2 separate regions of the Homo sapiens genome follow, and region 2 is linked to region 1. Evidence: promoter capture Hi-C in 16 types of primary human blood cells and fetal thymus (Javierre and others, 2016). All regions are on one chromosome and are shown on one strand. The core of a region is centred on a gene start or on the middle of the fragment in contact, and the rest is flanking DNA. Distances in the headings are between cores, read along the strand shown.

Evidence for each region. Contacts are between HindIII fragments. The CHiCAGO score rates a contact against its expected background, and 5 or more counts as called.
Region 2: a contact is called between a fragment that was not itself captured here and the fragment with the promoter of ZNF628 in region 1, in 1 of 17 cell types (naive CD8 T cells). The highest score is 5.7, in naive CD8 T cells.

Annotation. Positions count from the first base shown.
Region 1 is chr19:55,474,858-55,480,410 of GRCh38, reverse strand. ZNF628 (zinc finger protein 628) reads right to left here and starts at 3,794. Exons shown (of 3, transcript NM_033113.3): 1 at 3,604-3,794; 2 at 494-577. The coding sequence starts at 500. RefSeq lists silencers at 3,073-3,396, 3,529-3,728. The HindIII fragment of the contact is 2,239 bases long and covers 3,391-5,553 here.
Region 2 is chr19:55,231,716-55,237,591 of GRCh38, reverse strand. It overlaps PPP6R1 (protein phosphatase 6 regulatory subunit 1), which reads left to right. Exons shown (of 24, transcript NM_014931.4): 16 at 622-679; 17 at 771-949; 18 at 5,381-5,517; 19 at 5,610-5,790. Among named protein-coding and RNA genes, the nearest start is that of MIR6804, 3.7 kb to the right of the region's middle. The HindIII fragment of the contact is 3,764 bases long and covers 983-4,746 here.

The sequences.
Region 1 (5,553 bases), core at 2,545-5,044:
AGCTGGACGTGGTGGCAGGCACCTGTAATCCCAGCTACTTGGGAGGCTGAGGCAGGAGAATCACTTGAGCCTGGGAGGTGGAGGTTGCAGTAAGCCGAGATCACACCACTGTACTCCAGCCTGGGCCATAGAGAGAGACTCCATCTCAAAAAAAAAAAAAAGGAAAAAAAAAGTGTCCTCATGGTTGAGCCTGGAACAACCTACTTCCCAACACCACAAAGCCTTCTAGGTCACTCTAGCTTGGTGCTCCAACTCCCCAAATCCTTAGACTCCAGCCCATCTACCATCCAGCGCGCCCTTTCACCTCCAGCCAACCCACATCCTCACTCCTGCCCGACCCTGCACAAACGCTGCAGGTGGCCATGACAGGCACCCCCTTGCCTGGCCTCAGTCTCACTTTCCCTTCAAGCCCACAAAATCTGCGGCCCCCTCACCATCACCCTCCCTGGCTCACACTACATGTCTCTGGCCCATGCACTCCCCAGGTGACTACCTGACATGCTTCTTTCTCCTGAAACCTCCAGCCCCTCCTCTCCCCTCCTGTTCTTGGCAGGCAACCCTGTCCTTGATCATGCCTCTGTGAAAATAAAAGCAATCAGACGCGAAGTTTCTCACATTCTGACCACGATACTAGTGGTTCTCAACTGGGACAAACTGTGCCTTCAACCCAGGGGACATCCCGCAATGCCTGGAGGCATTTGGGGTTATCTGTTAACTAGAGAGGCAAGTGCTCCTGGCATCTAGTGGGTGGAGGCCAGGGATGCTGCCCAACATCCTACAATTCACAGGACGGCCCCACAGCGGAGAACAATCCCATCCACAATGTCAGCAGTGCGAGGTCCAGAAACCCTGCGCAATCCTTCCCCACAGGCCTGACCCAGTGCCCGTGGACTGTGCCTTCCCACCCACATCCTCCACTTTTCCTCCTCTCCTGGACGTTCCCATCTGCAGAACCAACAATCTATGTCTCCCATCTTTAAAAACCAAAAAGCTCTTCACTCCACTTCCCTGTCCAGCTGCAGACTCGTTTCTCCATTCCTTCACAGCAGAGCAGCTCAAGTGTCAGCCCGCTCTTTCCCAGCGCAAACCCCTTCAGTCCCACGCGGGTGCCCCCACTCCATGGCCTGGGCGGCGCGTGGCCCGCAATGGCCCACTTGTCACTGGGTCCGTGGCCCGCCTCCCCCTGGCCTCCGGGATACCTCGCTCCCTCACTGCCCTCCGTCACCTGTCACCCCATCTCAGTCCCCAGCTTGGTTCCTTCTCACCTCCCTGACCTCTAGATGTGGGAGCGCCCGGGGCTCCGGCACCACTTTGTCCTCTGTCTGTCCTCTCTCCCTGGGAGCCCCCACCCACTCTCAGGACTCCACTGTCTATGAACAATGACTCCAGGCCTCCAGCTCTATAAGACCTACCCTCTGAATGCCACACCACCTGCTAGACTGTTCCACCTGGATGCCTCATTAGACACCTCCAACTTAACATGCCCAAAATCTAACTATGGTCTTCTGCTCCTCGCCCCCAACTTCTACTCCACCCATAGCTTCTCCATCTCTGAAAATGGCAGCCGTCTTCTTCCTCAGGCCAAAGGCTCCTCGCCTCCTCTCTCTCGATTGCCCCTGTCCGCAGATTCCCCTTCCAGGCGGAACATATCCAAGATCTGGCCACTTCTCACAGGCCTCCACCTTGATCTGAGGCACCACTGTCTCTCTCCCAGGCAGCTGCAACAGCCTCCCCACGGATCGCCGTGTTTCCACCCGTGCCCTGCCCACCCGTCTGTTCCCAATACAGCAACTGAAGCGAACCCGTCAACAGGGAGGGCTGGGCATTGCATTCCTGTACTCAGAAATCTGCCACAGTTCTGGTCTTCGAGCCTGCCGACTTCCTGCAGCCTGTCCCCTCCCTGACTTGTCCTACTGCTATCCTCACTGGCCACCTGCCCCTGGTCACTCTGGTCACCCAGGATGGCCAGGCACGCCTGCTCCCACCTCAGGGCACCTGCCTAGAACCACCCCCTTCCTTTCCACCTGTGCCCGCCACTCGCTCTTTCACCTCCGAGTCTTCGCTGAAATCCCCTCTGCAAGAGCTTCCCTGACAGCCCTATTTAAATCTACAATCCCTTCCAACTCCCCATTCCCTTTTCCTGCCTTATTTTTCCCCCGCAGCAATTATCACCTTCTAATGTACCAGGATTCTCAGCCTCAGCAGTGCTGAGATGTGGGGCCAGACCATTCTCTGTTGAGGGCTGTCCTGTGCACTGCAGGGTGTCGAGCAGCAGCCCTGGCCCCCGGCCTCGACCCACTGGACGCCTGACATTGGCCTATGAAGCCCTCCTCTACGCTGTCCACAAAGCTCACTCCTGCACCTCCGAGTCTTAGCCGCAGTGTCGCCCCTGGGGAGCACCGTTGCCCCCAGATGAGAACCGCTACTATATAACCAGTGTGCTTTCTGTTTTATTCTGCCTCCCCATGCTAGAATGTCAACGCCGGGAAAATAGGGGCTTCTGTCTGGTTCACTGTTGTATGCCATCCCAGTGCCTACAATAATGTCTGGCAGAGTGTGTGCGCAGTAAACAAATTTTAAATGAATGAAGGCTAGGCATCCCCGTCGGACAAGCTACAAGAACTTGTGTGTTTTTTTTGTTTTTTTTTGGAGACAGGGTCTCACTCTGTCACCGAGGCTGGAGTGCAGTGGCGCGATCTCGGCTCACTGCAACCTTCGCCTCCCGGCTTCAAGCGATTCTCCTGCCTCAGCCTCCCGAGTAGCTGGGATTACAGGTGCACGCCACCGCGCCCGGCTAATTTTTGTATTTTTAGTAGAGACGGGGTTTCACCATATTGCCTGGGCTGGTCTTGAACTCCTGGCCTCAAGTGATCCGCCCGCCTCGGCCTCCCAAAGTGCTGGGATTACAGGCGTGAGCCACCGCGCCTAGCCAAGAACTTCCTTTTTAAAAGATAAGTGTACCCTTTAATATGTAAGCAGGTTAGATCGCGCCACTGCACTCCAGCCTGGGCAACGGAGCAAGACTCCGTCTCCAGAAAAAAAAAAAAAAAAAAAAAACAAACCTACTGATGCTAAGAAGCTGCACGTGCCTTTGAGAAGCCCCAGCATCTCCTTAAAAGAGATATCCGTGCCCTGAAAGAGCGGGGTCCCATTTAACAAGAAGACATCCCCTTTAAAAGGCCGCGCCACACCCGTTCAGCAGGCTGGACCTCCCCTTTAAGGGGATGCTGCCACTGGAGCCCCATCTCCACTTTTGTTGAGCTAAACCAGGGATCGCTTTGAAGCAACCAGGACTCAGGAGTTTTTGCTTCAATGTCTGGGAAACGGTCACTGGCCTTTAATGAGATAACCGCCTTTTAGGGGAAAAACATTGTTTTAAGTCAGAAAGCTTCTGTAAAAATGCAAAGCCTGACCCGCCCTCTCAATGTGGCCCCTTGCCCTTTAAGAGGGCGGACCCGGCCTAGCTGGCAAATGTCGGAGGTGAAATAGTGACTCCCCTTTAAGGTACCCCTTCCGGTTTCACGCCCCCCCCCCCGCCCCACCCCCTGCAACTTCTCCGCCCTCCGGTCCCTCCCCCCACCCCCACCCCCTCCGGTCTCTCACCTGCGGCCCCAATCGGGGGAACGAGGGTGGCAGCCCCAGGACCTTCCCGCGGGGGTCGACGGGAAGGTGGGGCCCCGGCAGCGGCGGTGCAGCTGTGGGGACCGGGGAGGGGGGGCAGGGGCGCACTCCCTCCCAACGGCCCCCGGCGCGAGGCACCCAACCTTTATCGGCGGCCTCTCGCGCACACAAACCCCGACGTCGCCGTCGGTGCGTCACAACGCACGTACTCCGAGTTCCCGCCCCCGGACCCTCCCATTGGCTGTGCGAGGCCTCGTCGAGCTCGGGCGCAGGCGGTGCGCGGCATCCTGGGAGTTGTAGTTCTCCCAGTTGTGGTCGCGGACTCCAGTTGTCAGGTCTTGGGGGCCGAGGCCCCGGTGAGCCCAAGGCCAGGGACGGCCAGCTCGAGACGCGGGGTCGCAAGTTCCCCTTATTAATCCCGATTCCCTCTCATCTGCAAAAAAATCCTTCCATGCACCACGGTTGTACAAAAATCCCTCCCGTGAAGCGGGCCCCGCCCCCAGGGTGTAATCGCTCCAGCGGGAAAACGAGGCCTGGAGCGCTTCCAGTCCCTCGGTAGAGCCACGTGCTCAGGATTTTCGGGCGTGTGCTTCGTGCACGCTCATCCAGACGCTGCAGAAACCTGGTTCCTGCTGGGCAAAGGTCTGTTCTGGGAGGCTGGAATCCACAGACTCCTTGTGGGGCCTAGGGTTTTAGTGGGAGACCGAGCTGCTCCAAAGCCCCTCTCCACGCTCAACCCCCGCCCAACCCAGCGTTCCAGCCACACTGGCTTTTCTGAGGGTCATTAAACGCAGTTTCTCAACCAGAGCACTAGTGCCATTTGGGATGGATTCATTGCAGCGGGGACTGTCCTACACACTCTAGGGCCCCCACTCACTAGATGCAGGTAGCATCCCCAGCCCCGCTCCACACACCCCGTAGGAGAGCTCAGAATATCTCCAGATAGAGATTTTCGCGGTGGCTCACACCTGTAATCCCAGCACTTTGGGAGGCTGAGGCAGGCAGATCACTTGAGGTCAAGAGTTCAAGACCAGCCTGGCCAACATGGTGAAACCCCGTCTCTACTAAAAATACAAAAATTAGCCGGGCATGGTGGCAGGCACCTGTAACCCCAGCTACTCAGGAGGCTGAGGCAAGAGGATCGCTTGAGCCCAGGAGTCGGAGGTTGCAGTGAGCCAAGATCGTGCCACTGCACTCCAGCCAGGGTGACAGAGTGAGACTCTGTGTTAAAAAAAAAAAACAACAACAACAAAAAGAATATCTCCAGACATTGCCACATGTTCACTAGTTGAGAGCCACTGCTCAAAGGCAGTACCCTCAGCTTGAAGACCATTCTGCATGCTGTTTCTCAGGCCAGAAGGCCCTTCTACCCTTAACCCATCCCTGCCCAGCAAGATCCCACTGGAAAGCCTCCTGTGCTAGGTGGTGTCCCTCTTACATGCTCAGCGACATTTATCTATGTCCCATGACAGCGAGGACCTTTCGTGTCTTTGCTGCCCAGGTATTCCAAACAACCAGCATGGGCCCTGATGGAGAAGCAGACGGTACTTGTTTGTTGAATGAGTGGATTTTTCCAGCCTCCCACACCGTTTCCCAAGTCCACAAGCAGGCTGGAACTCAGGGCTGATCTGCGGTGGTGTGGACCCACCCCTACCTTACAGGGTCTTGGTGCTGATGTCTCCGTGCATTCGTGCGTGTAAAAACCCTTGGCATCCAGCTCAGCCCAACATTCCTTTCACGTCAGCATTAACCACACAAAGCGGCTGCCATGCAGGGTGGAGACGTGGATGGGAATGCACTGCCCAGCTGGCTGCCAGGCTAGGAAAGCCCAGAGGTGCGGATCCCACTTCCGTCCCCCTTGCCTCGGGCCATTTTGGTCTCTGCAGTAGTGAAAGGGGCCCTCAGCTCAGCCCCCCTCATTTACCTGCCCAC
Region 2 (5,876 bases), core at 1,615-4,114, 240 kb after region 1:
TTCATGAATTTGAGACAAATGATCCCTTGAACTGTCCGTAACACGTGGGACAGAATGTGGACCCTGATCATTAGACCCTCGTGGTGAGGGAGGTGGGGCCCTGGCAGGCACAGTTTAAGTTTTGACGTGATTCTTTTTCCCATAATTTAGAATTTCAGCCGCGGACCGTAGACATCTTGAGGTTAGGGGATGTGCTTTATTGGGCTGTAGTCTCACATTCTGCTTGTGCCTGGCTGGTGTGAGTGTCAGCCTCCTACAGATGCCCCAAGGATGGGGACAAGGGCATGGATCTGAATCCCTCTCTGGCACCTGTCCTTGGAAGAGCCTGAGGAGAGTCGCTTAACATTTCCGAGCCCCATTTTCTCACTTCTAGAGCCAAGGGAAACAGCCTACCTCAATGAGTGGTTTTAAGGATTTAAAGTGATCATATGTGAGATGTTGATATTCATGTATGCGTTGCCCCTTAGGACCAGTGGTTCGGGTTGTGTGTGAATTTGCAGATACCAAATCTGCAAGTAATGAGGGTCAGCTCTGTGTTGAGTGAAGAAAGAAATGTGGCCTGTCCTGTGCTGCCCCCACCCCCAGGTGGACCTTCTCACCATGCCTTGCCTTCTCTCCTAGCGCACCTTTTGACAAGACAGCCAACATCACCTTCTCCCTCAATGCTGACGATGAGAACGTGAGTACTGCCCTGTCCCCTGGTTGTGGCGGGTGGAGGGGTGTGGGGCTGTGGGCAGTGTGGCCCATCCTCCCACCCCTGTGCCCTGCAGCCCAACGCCAACCTACTTGAGATATGCTACAAGGACCGCATCCAGCAGTTTGATGATGATGAGGAAGAGGAGGACGAGGAAGAGGCCCAGGGCTCAGGGGAGTCTGATGGAGAAGATGGCGCCTGGCAGGGCAGCCAGCTGGCCAGGGGGGCCCGTCTGGGCCAGCCACCTGGTGTCCGGTGAGTCCCCCTCCAGTTTCCCTTCTCCAAGCTTCCACCACACGGCAGGGCCAAGGGGTCCCCCCAACACATTTGGACTGAGGCTGAAGTGAATGAAGAAAATAAGGAACCTGCATTGGTGTGTGTATTAGTTGGGGGCACTTTCACTTTTGAGTGATAGAAATCTAATTCAAGGCCAAGCATGGTGGGCTCATGTAATCCCTGAGTGCCTGTAATCCCAGTACTTTGGGAGGCCAGGGCAGATGGATTGCTTGAGCTCAGGAGTTTGAGACCAGCCCTGGGCAACATAGGGAGATCCTGTCTCTACAAAAAATACAAAAGTTAGATGGGCATGGTGGTGTGCACCTGTAGTCCTGGCTACTCGGGAGGTTGAGGTGGGAGGATGGCTTGAGCCAGGGAGGCAGAGGTTGCAGTGAGCCGAGATCATACCACTGCACTCCAGTCTGGGCAACAGAGCCAGACTTGTCTCAAAAAAAAAGGTAGATGATGCATTAAGAAATCAACAAATTAGCCGGGCACAGTGGCTCAAGCCTGTAATCCCAGTACTTCGGGAGGAGGCCAAGGTGGATGGATCGCTTGAGCTCAGGAGTTTGAGACCTAGCCTGGGCAACATAGCGAAACCCTGTCTCTACAAAAATTACCTGGATGTGGTGACGTGTGCCTGTAGTCCCAGCTACTTGAGAGGCTGAGGTGGAAGGATCGCTTTACCCTGGGGGGCGGAGGTTGCAGTGAGTTGAGATCGCACCACTGCACTCCAGTCTGGGTGACAGAGACCTGGTCTCAAAAAAAAAAAAAAAAAAAAGAATCAACAAATTAAAAAAAATCAGCCGGGCACGGTGGCTCACGCCTGTAATCCCAGCACTTTGGGAGGCTGAGGCGGGCGGATCACGAGGTCAGGAGATCAAGACCATCCTGGCTAACATGGTGAAACCCCGTCTCTACTAAAAATACAAAAAATTTGCCGGGCGTGGTGGCGGGCACCTGTGGTCCCAGCGACTTGGGAGGCTGAGGCAGGAGAATGGCGTGAACCCGGAAGGCGGAGCTTGCAGTGAGCCAAGATTGCGCCACTGTACTCCAGCCTGGGCGACAGAGCGAGACTCTGTCTCAGAAAAAAAAAAAAAAAGGAATCTAATTCAAATGAGTTAAGTTATGAAAAGAAAGGGATAATCTCTGTGGCTGAAAAAATAGGCAGGTCCTGAGGTATGGCTTGGTCTGTGTGTGTCTCTCTCTTCCCGCCTCCCTGTCTCCTTCCTTCATCCCTTCACTTCACTTCCTCGTGTTAGCTCTCACACGTTTTCCTAGAAAGGGGGGTAAGATGGTCCCAGGCAGCTTCTCTCTTCTCTAATTCCAGTAAAATGAGAGATGATGACGTCCCTCTCCAATCAGGCTGTGATGACATTTTAGTGCAAATGTTACATTGTTTTTTTTTTTTCTCTTAATACTGGCCGGCCCCAGAGTCGCTGTGATGAAATGGGTTCATGCCATGTAGATTTGACAGCCTGAACACTAAGTCATCATCTGCAACTGAGTTTTTGACTCATGACTTTTGATTTCGGAATTAGGCTGTTTTCACTTTTTATTGACATGTAACATGCGTATAGACAAGTGTACATACAGATCCTGAGTGTGTGGCCAATGGATATCCTTCCTCAGTGCCCAGACCCAGGAGCAGGACCTTCCCAGTACCCACATCCCCTCTGTTAGCCAGTATCCTCCCTTCTGAGGGTAAAGTTGTCCTGGCTTCTAACCCTGTAGATGAGTTTTGTCTCTGTTTTCACTTGATATAGCATACAGCATCTCCTTTTATGTCTGACCTCTGTTGCTCAACACTCTGCTTGTGAGCTCCTTCCCTGTTGTGTGTTTGGGTGCCCCTGGCTCTCGTGCAGTGGGGCAGTGCCATGCATGATGAGCTGCAGCTGAATTGCTTGTTCTGCAGTTGACAGGCCTTTGGGCAGGTTCCTGTTGCTCGCTGCTGTGAGTGCAGCCGCTGTGAGTGCGGCCGCTGTGAATACCCTTGCACGTGTTGTTGGTGCACAAGTGTGTCACTGCCAAATCCAGCATCTTGACTTAGCCCTCTCTTTTCTTCTAAGAGTTTTATAGCATTATTTCTATGGTTTTCCATTCATTTTGAGCTAAATTTTGTATATGATGTGAGGTGGTCCACCTTCATCCCTTTACATATAGATAACCAGTTTTCCCTGCACCAGTTGTTGAAGACACTGTCCTTTCTCCACTGAATCATCTTGGCACCTGTGTAAAAAGGAAATATTTGACCATATGTATGAGTTTGTTTCTTCCCTCTCTGTTCTGTTCTATCAGTCTGTGTGTTGTTTTTATCCAGTACCACACTGGCCTGGTTGCTGTTGCTTTATAGTAAGTTTTGAAAATGGGAGGTTTGTTGGGCACGGTGGCTCACACCTGTAATCCCAGCACTTTGGGAGGCCAAGGTGGATGGATCACCTGAGGTCAGGAGTTTGAGACCAGCCTGGCCAACATGGTGAAACCCCATCTCTACTAAAAATACAAAAATTAGCCGGCTGTGGTGGGTGCCTGTAATCCCAGCTACTCAGGAGGCTGAGGCAGGAATATCGCTTGAACCTGGCAGGCAGAGGTTGCAGTGAGCTGAGATCGCACCATTCATTGCACTCCAGTCTGGGTGACAAGAACGAAACTCCATCTCACAGAAAAAAGAAAATGGGAGGTTTTAGTTTTCCAACCTTGTTCTTCTTTTTAAAGATTGTTTTGCCCTATTTGGGATTTCTTGAGATTCCATATGAATTTTAGGATCAGCTTGTCAATTTCAACCAAGAAGCCACCTTGCGTCTTCTAATACGTGAACATGGATGTCTTTTTATATAGGTCTTAAAATTTCTTTCAACAATGTTTCGTAGGTTTTAGAGTATGAGGCTTTGTATTTCTTTTAAGTTTATTCCTGTTTTCTTCTTTCTGTTACTATTGTAAATGGAATTTTCTTGAAATTGTTTTCAGATTGTTACAAGTATATGAAAATACAATAGGTTTTTGTATGTTGATCTTTCATCCTGCAACCTTGCTGAACTAATGTATGAGTTCTGATAGTTTTAGTGGACTCCTTAGGATTTTCTATGTACAGAATCATGTCATGTGAATAGAGTTCATTTTCCTTCCTTTCAAATCTGGATGATTTTAATTTCCTTTTCTTGCCTGGTTGCCCTGGCTAGCCTCCGGGACAATGTTGAACAGAAGTGGCAAGAACAGGCATCCTTGTTTTGTTCCTGATCTTAGGGGGAAGCATTCAGCGTTTTGCCATGTAAGCATGCTGTTAGTTGTGGGGTTTTGTAGATGCCTTATGTTAGGTTGAGGGGCTTCCTTTATACTCCTTAGTCGTTGAGTATTTTAGTTTACTTTTAACTATATACAGATATATTACTTTCCAGTTAAAGTAGTCAGTTACTCTGTTAAGACAAAAATATTGGGTCAGCATTTTAGACATAGTATATAGTCCCATACTGCATCTTTGGGTCAGCGATGGACCACATATGACAGTGGTCCCGTGAGATTATAATCCTCTATTTTTGCTGTATTTTTCCTATGTTTAGATACACAAACATTTACCATTGTTAGAATTGCCTGTAGTATTCAGTACTGTAACATGCTGTATAGGTCGGTAGTCTAGGAACAATAGGCTATACCACAGAGCCTAGGTGTACAGGAGGCGCCACCATCCAGGTGTGTGTAAGTGCACTCTAGAATGTTCACACAATAGCAAAATCGCCTAATGATGGCGTTTTTCAGAGTGCACCCTCGTTGTTAAAGCTTAGTTTTAGTGTTACTTTGCTTACCCCTTCCCCGGTTGATCAGCACGTAGGTTGCTTGGATTTTCTTCATGCTCACAGGTGTGTGTTAGTCAACATTCAGCCAGTGTTTTTGGAGCAGCTATGGGTGCCTGGTGGTTTCTCAGGGCTGAGGATACAGCAGTGGCAAAACTCAGCCATCTCTGCCTTCTTGGAGTTTCTAGTTGGAGGGAGAGAGTAGTGTGAAGCCTCTGTCCAGAGGGTGGGCCTGCTGGTGGGAAGGCCTGTCACTGTGGTGACCGTGTGAGGTGACGGCTGGGAGGTGGCTTGAGAGCTGGTGAGTGGGTCTGTCTGCTCTGGTTGCCATGGCTGAGGCTCAGCCCACTTCCCCAGGGCCTGCCCTCCACGGATGACTGGCGACGGACGGTCTCCTTACGGCCGCATTCTGTCCCTGCCCGCCTGTGTTCTTGCCGTTGGCTCAGAACTCCCTCTCCCAGCCTCTCCTGGTGTCGTCACACCCCAGGCTCCCTGGACCCTTCTGTGACCTGCCTGTCATCCCAGCCCGCTCTCCTTGGGCTGACCCTGGGCTGCAGGGAACAGGATGGGTGTCGGCCGGTCTGTCCCACACAGCTAGCTGACGAGGTGGTTTCTGGGGCAGGAGTGGAGGCAGCACAGACAGTGAGGACGAAGAAGAGGAGGACGAGGAGGAGGAGGAAGACGAGGAGGGCATTGGCTGTGCAGCCCGTGGAGGGGCCACCCCTCTGTCCTACCCCAGCCCTGGCCCTCAGCCTCCAGGTGAATGAATGGGCGGTGTGGTCAGGTGTACACAGGGCTGTCTGCCTGCTACTGAGTTCACCCTCCATCCCGCTCCCCCACCTCTATCCCAGGCCCCAGCTGGACAGCCACCTTTGACCCAGTGCCTACAGATGCCCCGACCAGCCCCCGAGTCTCCGGGGAGGAAGAGCTGCACACTGGGCCTCCAGCCCCACAGGGGCCCCTCAGTGTGCCCCAGGGCCTCCCCACTCAGAGCCTGGCCAGCCCTCCTGCCCGTGACGCCCTGCAGCTCAGGTGAGAACCGGATGGAACGGGCTAAATGGTGCTGGTATCCCGAGGCCAGGAGGTGGCCATGGGGTCCCCGTCCTCTCATAGGCTCG